2 separate regions of the Homo sapiens genome follow, and region 1 is linked to region 2. The links are contacts of gene promoters, found by promoter capture Hi-C in blood cells and fetal thymus (Javierre and others, 2016). All regions are on one chromosome and are shown on one strand. The core of a region is centred on a gene start or on the middle of the fragment in contact, and the rest is flanking DNA. Distances in the headings are between cores, read along the strand shown. Region 1 holds the start of CIAO2A (cytosolic iron-sulfur assembly component 2A). Region 2 holds the start of HERC1 (HECT and RLD domain containing E3 ubiquitin protein ligase family member 1).

The links. The method cuts DNA at HindIII sites, captures the fragments that hold promoters and counts their contacts. A CHiCAGO score of 5 or more calls a contact.
Region 1: a fragment that was not itself captured here is called in contact with the fragment with the promoter of HERC1 in region 2 in 14 of 17 cell types (naive B cells, M2 macrophages, erythroblasts and 11 more); the score reaches 12.4 in naive B cells.

The regions. Positions count from the first base shown.
Region 1 is chr15:64,088,378-64,093,896 of GRCh38, forward strand. CIAO2A (cytosolic iron-sulfur assembly component 2A) reads right to left here and starts at 5,461. Exons shown (of 5, transcript NM_032231.7): 1 at 5,268-5,461; 2 at 310-474. The coding sequence starts at 5,391. RefSeq lists enhancers at 1,053-1,112, 1,163-1,212, 4,536-5,098, 4,734-4,783, 5,144-5,519. The HindIII fragment of the contact is 1,837 bases long and covers 3,169-5,005 here.
Region 2 is chr15:63,831,752-63,837,498 of GRCh38, forward strand. It overlaps HERC1 (HECT and RLD domain containing E3 ubiquitin protein ligase family member 1), which reads right to left and starts at 2,197. Exons shown (of 78, transcript NM_003922.4): 1 at 2,076-2,197. RefSeq lists enhancers at 1,353-2,218, 2,219-3,082, 2,256-2,385 and a silencer at 1,586-2,015. The HindIII fragment of the contact is 17,710 bases long and covers 1-5,459 here.

The DNA.
Region 1 (5,519 bases), core at 2,837-5,336, 260 kb after region 2:
TGGAGTCAGGAGACCTGGGTATGAGCCTTAGTTTCACCATTTCCTGGCTACCTGATTCTGTGCAAGTCACTTAAACTCTCTGAGCTTCAGGTTCCTCATCTGCAAAATGAAGATAATAATATTTTAACTCAACAAGCTAATTGTGAGGACTACAGAAGATGAATACACGAACATACTCTGTAAACCATAAAGTGTAATACATACACTGTATGGTTTTTCAACAATGATGCAAATTGTTATTATGGGTCAATATCAGCAAGAATAACTTAGAATTTATATAAATATACATGTATGTACAGAAAAACTTACCAATAAGAGTCGCCAAAGAGCAATGAGGTACTGTTGGCGTGAACCTGATAATAACCAGATATTCTTCTTCATTTATCTCCTGAACTTCCACACAACTTTCCGAGACCACTTCCAGTTCTTCTAAAGTATTGGGCTTTTCTGGGTCCCGGATAGTTCTAATCAAATCTAAAGAATCATCAGAGATAAGATATTCTATTAAAACATGACTATTCTAAATAAAGATGATTTTGCCAGGCCTAATTTAAGCACTGACTTCTCTTACGTTTAAGCAAATAGTACAGCAACTCCCAGGTTTCTGACAGAAATTTTCACTACTGGTTTCCTCTTGAGAAAACTGTTTTCTTGGATTATTATAAGACCATATCCAGTTTCTCCAATCGGACATTGCAGAGAAAATATAATAAGAATGGAAACAGTGTCATGGAAGCTCAAGAGGAAGAAATAACTTTCAGCTTGAAAGAATGTGGTTATCAGGCTTTATAGGAGCGGAATCTGAATCAAGCCTTGAAAAATAGGTAACATTTCAATATTTGACATTTAAAGTGAAGGAAAGTAGCTGGGCATGGTGGCTCACACCTGTAAACCAACCACTTTGAGAGGCAAAGGCGGGAGGATCACTTGAGCTCAGAAGTTCGAGACCAGCCTCAGCAACATAATGAGACCCCCGTCTCTACAAAAAATACACACAAAAATTAGCCGGGTGTAGTGGTGCAGGCCTGTGGTCCCAGCCACTCAGGAGGATCGCTTGAGCCCAGGAGGCAGAGGTTGAGAGCGGAGATCGTGTCACCGCACTCTAGGCTGGGCAACAAAGCGAGACCCTGTCTCAAAAAAAAAAAAAAAGTGAAGGAAAGTAAAGTAAAGAAGAAGAACCCTAGTTTGCCTGGAAGCAGGCATAAGTGAAAGGTGTTTTAGAGTATGAGATTTGGGTCTGACCATCAAGTGTCTTTTACAGCCAGCTACCGGCAATAGCAAGTCCTCAAGAGGTTTGAGACAAGTGACATGGACAACACTGTGCTGTCAGCTGGTAACTCATCATCAGCTGCTAGACTCAGACTAAAAAGCAGAACCAATGATACCAGCTAAAAACACCAGGCCTAAAATAGTATCTAGGACAACACTGGCAGAACTAAAAGAAACAGAACGAGGAAGAAATTTGGGTGGGGCATAGAGCAAATGAGTTCAATTTCACACAGAATGATTTTGAGGTGCTTAAGGGGTTATCCAATGGAGTTTTCTAGCAAGTGGTAAACTGTAGCATAGAGTTTAAAACAGCATCAAAGCTAGAGTGGTTGTCAAACCCACAGGATTCACAAAGAATAAGTAGAACCTTGGCTGAACATTGGAATTACCAAGAATGTTTCAAAACAAACAACAAGGCCGGGCGCGTGGTTCAGGCCTATAATCCTAGCACTTTGGGAGGCTGAGGCGGGTGGATCGCCTGAGGTCAAGAGTTCGAGACCAGCCTGGTGAACATGGTAAAACCTCGTCTCTACTAAAAATACAAAAATTACCCAGGCGTGGTGCCGGGCGCCTGTAATCCCAGCTACTTAGGAGACTGAGGCAGGAGAATCACTTGAAACCAGAAGGCAGAGGTTGCAGTGAGCCGAGATCCCGCCATTGCATTCCAACCTGGGCAACAGAGCAAAAACTCCGTCTCAAAAACAAAAACAAACAAACAAAAAAACCTGATGCCTGGGCCCCAATTCCAGAGACTCTGATTTAATTGGTTTGCTGGCCTTTGAGTTTTAAAAATTTCTCGGGTTGTTCTTAGGTACAACCCAGTATGAGAATCAGTGGTATAAAGAAAAAAGAGACCCAACAGATCCATGCGAAGCACCTAACTTAGGGATCAGAATGAGAAACAAAAGCAAAAAGAACTAGAGGAGGGAAGAGAGGGATGGTTAATAACATTAAATGCTGCAGAAAAATTCAGGCTCATGAGAGCTAAAACAGGTCTTTCATTTGTCACCCCAGCCAGCTGTAAGAAAGCAGTTTCAGTAGAGAGTGCGTGCGCTGAAGCCAGCTTGCAAAAGGGGAAGCAAGTAGGAACTGAAAATGTCTTCCTAGGGCCTTAGCTGGGAAGGGAGGGACATGAAAAGGACAATGACTTTATAAGGAAGCTAGAACAATGACAAGGATAAGGGCAACTTTGAGGAGAGAAATTGAAAATATAAGTTGGGAGGAGCGGAGACTGGTAAAATAAGCAGAAGGGAGTGGGATCAAATATTTAGAAGTCTCAGTTGGCCTTGGAGAAGACAAGATTTCTTTCTTACTCTGAGGCTGGAGAAAGAGATGAAGGAAAGGAGAACAATAAAGAGAAATGGTGAGGTAGAAAGGAAAGAAGCAGAATTTTACATAGAATGTGCTTGAGGTTCTCAAATCTGAAGTTTTGTTTTATTATTTATCACACAAAATTATATGTAATCAGAAATGCAACTGGGAAAAACAAGAACAAATTCTATTTTCTCTTTAATTTGCTCCTGGGCTTGTCACTTGATTAGAAACAGAATTTTGCCAAACATGACGGCTCATGCCTGTAATCCCAGCACTTTGGGAGGCTGAGGCAAGTGGATCACCCACCTGAGTTCAGGAGTTCAAGACCAGCCTGGCCAACATGGCAAAAACCCGTCTCTACTAAAAATACAAAAATGAGCCGGGTGTGGTGGCATGTGCCTGTAATCACAGCTACTCAGGAGGCTGAGGTAGGAGAATCACTTGAACCCAGGAGGCTGAGGCTGCAGTGGGCCAAAATTGTGTCACTGCACTCTAGCCTGGGTGACAGAAGAGACTCTGTCTCAAAAAAAAAAAAAAAAGAAAGAAAGAAGCAGAATTGGAAAACATAGGCAAGAAAGTCGACAAAGCTTCTCTTTCACAGAGCTGTGTTATCATGGGACTTAGGGAAACAGAGTTTTCTGAAAAGGAATTTTCTGCCTCTCATACTAGGCTTTCTCCCCATAAGGCTCATTTAATTGTATTATATTCTTTATATGCCACTAAACCCTGAAATTAAATATCATCCTTATTAAATTTCTCTAGTTTTCTAGTTTCTAGATTTGAGAGGTTTGGCTTTACTTCTTTAAAAAGAAAGAAGGGCCGGGTGTGGTGGCTCATGCCTGTAATCCCAGCCTTTGGGAGGCCGAGACAGGCAAATCACTTGAGCTCAGGAGTCCAAGACCAGCCTGGGTAACATAGCAAAACCTCATCTCTACAAAAAAATACAAAAATTAGCTGGGCATGGTGGTGCATGCCTATGGTCCCAGTCAGTCAGGAGGCTGAGGTGGGAGGATGGCTTGAGCCCTGGAGGTGGATGGAGGCTGCAGTGAGCAGTGATTGCACCACTGCACTCCAGCCTGATTACCAGAGTGAGACCCTGTCTCAAAAAAAAAAAAAAAAAAAAAAAAATTTAAAAGAAAGTTCTCCTCATATTACTCCCCACACTAACATTCTTCCACAGCACTGCACTATTAAAATTCTTCATTTATATTTAAAACCTTCAGTATCCAACTGCATCCCACTACCTAGAACAATGTTCAACCACATCTTCACATTTAACCACAAACCCTATCCTATAGCCCCATCTATCTGTCATTTCCTATCTTCTTACCTCCATGCTTTTAAGTTTCCTCTTAGTATGCCCTCTGACCCTCTACATATCTAGATCCTAATTATTCTTTGAGGCCCAACTCAAGTGGCTCCTTCTCTTTATTTCAAAGTCTTTCTAGATCCCCTCAGTCAGAGACTAGTATCTCCCTTTCTCTGAATTTCTGTATCTCTTATTCAGTCTACAGCCTTCTATTACATACTCTATTTTTGCATATATGGGTTTCCTTCAATATCAGTTTGAAGACTAGAGTCACTCTCTTCCAAAGTTGTATCTCCAGTGCCCTACCATCCCTAGATTATGTGGACAGAGATCTGGCAGGACAGGGATGTGGTCTGCTTTGTGGAGATCATTTTACTCACAATTATCATCTGCCTGGAGGCTGATTAGGTAAGTCCTGCCTCTAGTAAGAGAGGTCAACCAAATTAGCTCCCAGAGTATTTCCTAACCCTGGCTTCCTTCTACTGGCCTATAATCCTTACTTGAATTATATTTGTATTCTATGGTTAGATCTCTCAATATTATATCCAGTCTTTTCGGTTTTCAAAAACAATACAACATAATTAAAAAAACAAACAAACAAAAAGTTGTAAGGCAATTGTGAAGTGGTGGAAAGTGCATTACGGTTAGAACCAGTAGGCACAGCCTTTGCTTTTTGGCTCTGTTCCTTACTGGCAGTGTGACCTCCAGGTAGTTCTTTAACCTTTGTTTCCTCATTTGTACAATAAAGATGGCCCCAAGGGTTAAACAGAAAATATTTAATATGCAACATGGAAGAGTGTGTATGTGTGTGTGTGCGTTATGTGTGTGTACACAAGGCCTTGCTACAAGAAGCCAATCTCGTTCTCTTCTTTCGGGGACCTCTGCTTACTGACTTTGCCGGATAGAGTGGCTGTGACCTTGGGCCAGTCCCCAACTCGACTGTCACCCACAAGCGCCCTCAGCGGTAGCAAGAGTGCGTGTCCAGGAGCTAGAGAACGAGGCTCTAGTAGTGCAATCAGGCCAGCTTTGCTTCCTAACCAGGCACCCTAGACTTGTGGTCTCCCCACAAGTCTTGGAATGGTTACTAAGACGTAGGCCACACGTGGAGAATGAAGCTTTTAAGACCTCTGGGTTCGGCTTGCCCCAGGTTTACGAAGAGCCCAGTTCCCAGAAAGACCCACACCCCCCACGTGACTTAGGACCCCGAAGAAAGCGCCTGCTACGCCCCGGACAAGATCTGGCCAAAAACAAACAAACAAACAAACAAAAAAAAAGGTCTCCCCTCCCAGCCCTCAGGTGAGGCCATCATCCCCGCACCCCTCAGCTCCGGCCTGCACCTATAACGCCAAATGCTGTGCTGGGTAAAATTAATTACCATAAACTTCTAGCGCTTTCTCTTCCATGATCCGGGGCTGCCGGGCAGCTCCCGGCTCAGAGAGGCCGGAGAGCCACAGGACTCTGCTCAGCGTCCAGGAGAGCAGCCCGGACACCCGCTGCATCTTCACGCTCAGCCATCCCTGGCGACTGTCCCAATCGCGCCACCGTCTCTCAGCAGCCTCGGGATTGATCAACTTCCTGGTCTTCAAATGGGCCGAGACAAGCCTAAAGGTTCAGGAGAGCAGAGAAA
Region 2 (5,747 bases), core at 947-3,446:
CTAACCCAATCCAGTCCAATCACCAACACATTCTCCAAAATTTCTTTAAATTGAGATTTTCAAGAGATGTTTATATTAATAAGCAGATTAAGTGACGCATTTACATTTGCTTTCTCTTCCATGCAACATCAGGGTGCCTGCATTGGAAATGGAATACATGACCAGCAAATGAATGGATGTGTCACATGCAAACAGCATGACTGGAAATTTAAGAAGCAAAATGATAAGAACCTTAGGGAACGCAAAATTCATAAAAGTTTAGAATTACAAGAGGCCTTAATAGGCCATTTAATCCATTCCAATAACAACAACCCCAGATGACAATCTATCCTATTTTTAAAAGGCTCCAGATTTCCAACCTCCCTAGATATCTCATTCTGCCATACAACCTTGTCATGTGATTTGGGGGAAATATTATGACTGTTCTTTGCCCTTCCTAATGCTATCTTTTCTCAAATAATATAGCAATACATCTTAACTCACTTCCAAGATATATAAATGTGTATAGGTGCAGAATACGTGTGTGTGTGTGTGTGTCTCTATACATATATACGTACATTTATGCATAAGACAGGCACCTAGGACATTCAATTTTGCTTGTATAAACGCAGGCTATGGAAACACATATATCAAAGAGACATACTCATCCCACACTAATCACAACAGGCACTATGAAACAATGTCACAGAACAATTTTGGTCTAAAAATATCCAGTAGAAATCAATTTCATAAAACCTGAGGTAAATAGGTTTCTTCCCACTATGAATAATCATAGTTTCTTTCCCTTCTACAAATACTGCCCCATTTTGAGCAACCACCACTAACAGAATTGTAAAAATATAATATATACATAGGTACTAGACCCAAACAGACAATGTTTTAACGTTTGATTTTTCAAACCACTTAGCTAACAATCATTTTGGAAAAGGGCCCAGTGAAAAAGATAGTGATGGCAGAGTTCAGCCAGTGATAATGAACTAGCAGCCAGTTTTAATCAAGCAGGCCAGAGAACTGATTCAAATAAAATAAATCATTTTTGGAACAAATATAGAATGAGGAAGTCCCAAGCAAGGATAAAAAAAAATGTGTCTGTTAGGAAATACAATAAAATGTTAACCATGAAATGCCACCTCTGGAGATGGAATTACAAAGATGGGTTAGTTTGTTCAGATTTGTTATTCCCATCATTTAATTATCTCTATATTCTAAGTATTATAGACATTTCTTAAACTAAGACAAATCTGTCCCTGTGTTTCACAGCTCTCTAAGATAACATGTCTTTTACATAACCTCCTGGGAGAGGTGGTACAAGCTCCTGTCCTCCTCGTGTCTCCCAGTAACCTGCCACCCATCACAGAACAGATTTCACCATGTTCCCCGGGGTAGCTCCTGTCATCACCATCATCATCCTCATCTCACGCTTAAGACTAAACAATGCGCCCCGCCTCGCCTCCCGGTTGCAAAGGCTTTATAATTTGTTGTTTTATTGGGGCGGGAGATTTGGAGAAAGGTTTAGCAGATGATGAGCTGCCCTCACCCAAAGGCAGAGGAGAGGAGGAAGACACGTCGTCCCAGCCTCCACCCCGCTAAAGGCGGCCGGCGCCTGGGGACACCGGGGTCGCGGCACTCCCCGGACCCTGAGAGGGAGTCGGCCGCCGCCCGCGGACCGAGCCCCAGCCGGGGCAGAGGAGCTGGTCAGCAGATAAAGGAATGAAGCAGAAAGAGACGCGACCACAGCGGGGCCGGGGCACAGACGTTGTAAGCCGCTGGAGGGGCGGGTCTCTCGGCCCTCTCCGCGGGCGCCTCGGCTTCTACGCTGCTCCGAGGCGCCCGGGCGGCAGGAGGCCTCTAGAGCCGGGGACCCGGGGGATCCGCGGCGCGCCAGGAGGGCTCCCCCAGCTCGCCTGCCGCCCACCCGGGACCCCAGCAGCCCCGCTCGGCTGCAGTCCCGAAACGGCCCCGGCCGGCCCTGCGCGGCCGGCAAAGCACACACGCGCGCGCGCACACACACACACACACACACACACACACACACACACAGGACCAGGAGGACGGTAGATGATGCGTTACCGTACGTGGCTCTGGAGCTGGCGGGGTGGGGCGCGGCTCCGGCGACCCGAGCCCGGCTCCGCAGAGGCTGCGGCGGTCGCGTCCTTTATTTTTGCTGCAGCAGCAGCGACTTGTCAAAGGGAAAGACGTAAGAGGCGGCGGCAGCAGCGGCGGCGTCAGGCGAGTCTCACGAGATTTGGGCGGAACTCTCGCGCAGCCGGGAGCCCTCGCCCCGCCCAACAGGCCCAGCGCGGGAGGTGAAAGGGGAACCGAGAGGAAGGCGGCTGAGGTGGAGTTGGGGGTTGAGCGAAAAGGGGAAAGGGATTTGGGAGCGAGGGGAGCCAAGCTAGGTGCTGGGGACACTTTGCTACCGCGCGGCCCTCACCCTTCAGCCGTCGCGGAATCCGGGCAGCCCCGACCGCCTGCGGGGACCTGACTCCACAGATGAAGCACAATTGGGGGCGTTTCACAAAGGGTGGTGAGGAGTGGGGGGCCATGCAGTGCGCCCCCTTTTCCTCGTGGTGGGCAGGGAAGACCCCGCCGCCAGGCGAAGGGACACGTGTTACGGCCGGCGGCAGGGCCAGGGCCTCACCCCTTTATCTCCGCCTCGCACCCGGCGCCCCACGCTCTTTATCTCTCATCGCAGCGGCCCCGGCCCTCCGGCCGGCTAAGTTCAATCACATAAAAGCGTTTCACTTGACCTACTCTTCCACCTTGTTCATGTCTTTGCGCCTTATGGGACTGCCAGAACCCTGCAGATGCCAGGGCCTGGCTCCTCGGTTTTCTTTTCTGCTTGGGAACACAGTAGTGTCCTTTGGGTGACTTACATCCTTGATCATGACCTCGACCTCCACGTGAAACCCCATGAGGGGAAGGACACAGACTGGCTCAGTCCTCACCATATCTCCAGCGCCTAACATAGGTCCAAGTGGACATTAAATTGTTGAGTGAATACCCCATCTCCATCTTCCTCCTTCTGTACCTGGTTTTACTCCTTTCCAGCCACCTTCATGGTGTCTTTCCTTCCAGATATTCTAACGAGCATCAATTAAACTGACCGATGACTTGGGGACAAAAAATAGAGTTGGCCTCTGCGTTCCAGAAGTTTGCAATCCAATTGGAGGCGTAGGAGAAGCACACAAACATACAAGCCATGAATGTGTCACTAATGTAAGAAATTACGGTATAGACAGACGAGGGAGTGCTTTCCCATGGTTAAATTAGATACATGTTTGTGTGTCACATGAGGCAGTTTAGTCCAAGAGTTAGGAGCCATGTGCTTCACTGTCAGACACTGGTGGGAATTCTGGAATCCCACTTACCCCAGGTGTGTGACCTTGGGCAAGTTGCTTGACCTCTCTGAACCTCAGTTCCTTATGTGTCAATTTATAATGCCAGTTCTTGTTATCACAAGGTTCCTCTGAGGAGTAAAATATATGTAAAGCTCACATACGGCACATATTAAGTACTCATTAAATGATGGGTCTTAGGTGTGTAGCTTTTAAGTTTCTATGTATAAAATGTGTATTTCTGGTAAATGATGTAAGGGAGTAGCTACATGAGGAGTGATGTCATTGTTGCTAGTGCTTTATGATCTGGGTATTGTGTGTGAAGCATACTCAAAAACAACAAGCAAAAGCTCCTCCTTTTAACTTGTTGATGTCATCTACGTCACTCACAAATATGATATTCTGTCTTTCTTGAATTTGTAAAATTGTACTGGTTTTGCCCACTTTTTCTTTTTCTTTTTTTTGAGATGGAGTTTTGCTCTTGTTGCCCAGGCTAGAGTGCAATGGCACCATCTTGGCTCACTGCAACCTCCGCCTCCCAGGTTTAAGCGATTCTCCTGCCTCAGCCTCCCAAGTAGGTGGGATTACAGGTGTGTGCCACCATGCCTGGCTAATTTTTGTATTTTTAGTAGAGATGGGGTTCCACCATATTGGCCAGGCTGGTCTCGAACTCCTGACCTTGTGATCCGACCGCCTTGGCCTCCCAAAGTGCTGGGATTACAGGGGTGAGCCACCGTGCCCAGCCTGGTTTTGCCCATTCTATTTCAAGAAAAGGACTGCTTACTTTAAAGACCAATCAAGAGACTCCCTCTTTTACCATCTCCTTAGCTTCCACCCTCAGAGCTGTGTGTAAAAGAGAATTGAATACAACTGTGTTCAGTTGCATACAATTAGCAAATACTGTTAGTGTCAGCAAGTGAGCCCTGACTACTAGCCACCCTCACCTTGACCACACCACTCTTTCCCAAAACACTGTTTTTTTCTTTCTTTCTTTTTTCTTTTTGAGGTGGAGTCTCACTCTGCTGCTTAGGCTAGAGTGCAGTGGCGTGATCTTGGCTCACTTCAACCTCTGTCTCCCGGGTTCAAGCGATCCTCCTGCCTCAGTCTTCCTAGTAGCTGGGATTACAGGTGTGCTGCACCATGCCCGGCTAATTTTTTTATATTTTAGTAGAGACAGGGTTTCACCATGTTGCCCAGGCTGCTCTCGAACTCCTGACCTCAAATGATCTGCCTGCCTCGGCCTCCCAAAGTGCTGGGATTACAGGCGTGAGCCACCGCACCATGCTTAAAACACTGTTTCATACTCAAATCAGCATATCCTGGAACCTTGTTGTCAGCATTAACCTCCCAACTCTACCAGTTCATTTTATTCAGATTTCCCTAAAGAAAAATGTTGGAGATGGGAAGAGTGGATGGAGGGATCTCAGAGCCACAGCCAAGTCCTAAGCATCACAAGCCCTTGGTCTGATAGCCCTCTGAGCAGCATACCCTGGCCATACCAGTCAGCCACATCTTCCTCCCCTCACGTATGTCACCCCCACTTCATGCCTCATACTTCACAGCACCACACCACAGCTGGGAGGTCCCAGGCAAAGGAACTGGAGAATCAACAGTAGAATATATATTTTTCATCTTTCATCTGCATTTAGGAAATGTGCAACTCCTAGATAAAAATCAGGGCTAAGTTTGAAGTGAAGAAATCCAGCAGAGCAGTAAAGTGTGGAGGCAGAGCAGCAGGGGTAAACAGACACTGGGAGTAAGTTTGTGTTGCCCTTGGCACTTGGCTCAGGAAATATATCACTCTGAAAACAGAAAAGAGCTCCAGAGCAGGAATCCATGGACATGAGTTCTGGTAGCTCCAGAAATTGCAGCCTAGTTGCCCTGCCATTACACAGTCTTTCTGAGCCTAGTCTCACATCTGTAAATAGGGGTAATAATAAAACCCACTGCCTGCCGGAGAGTATCATGGGAGTCAAATAACATAAGAAAGTACTTTGTAACCATATTTGTAGCACTATTTAAATGTGAGGTATGATTATTCATTCATTCATTTAACAGGTCTTTGTGGAATGCCTATCATAAGTCAGGCACTGTGCAAGGCACTAAATATACTATTGAACAAGCTTAAACACCTGCCCTCAAGGAGCTTATGGTCTAATGGGAGGAGAGAGGGAAGAAAATAGATCGATATAATATCACATGAGGAGAGTGCAAGTGATAAAGGTATAGTGGGAGGGAGCAAGCAAACCAGAAGAAGTGCAAAAAGAGCTGAAAGCCTTTTTGGAGGAGGTTTAGAAAACATATATAATGGGCCAGGCACGGTGGCTCACGCCTGTAATCCCAGCAATTTGAGAGGCTGAGGTGGGCAGATTACCTGAGGTCAGGAGTTCAAGACCAGTCTGGCCAACA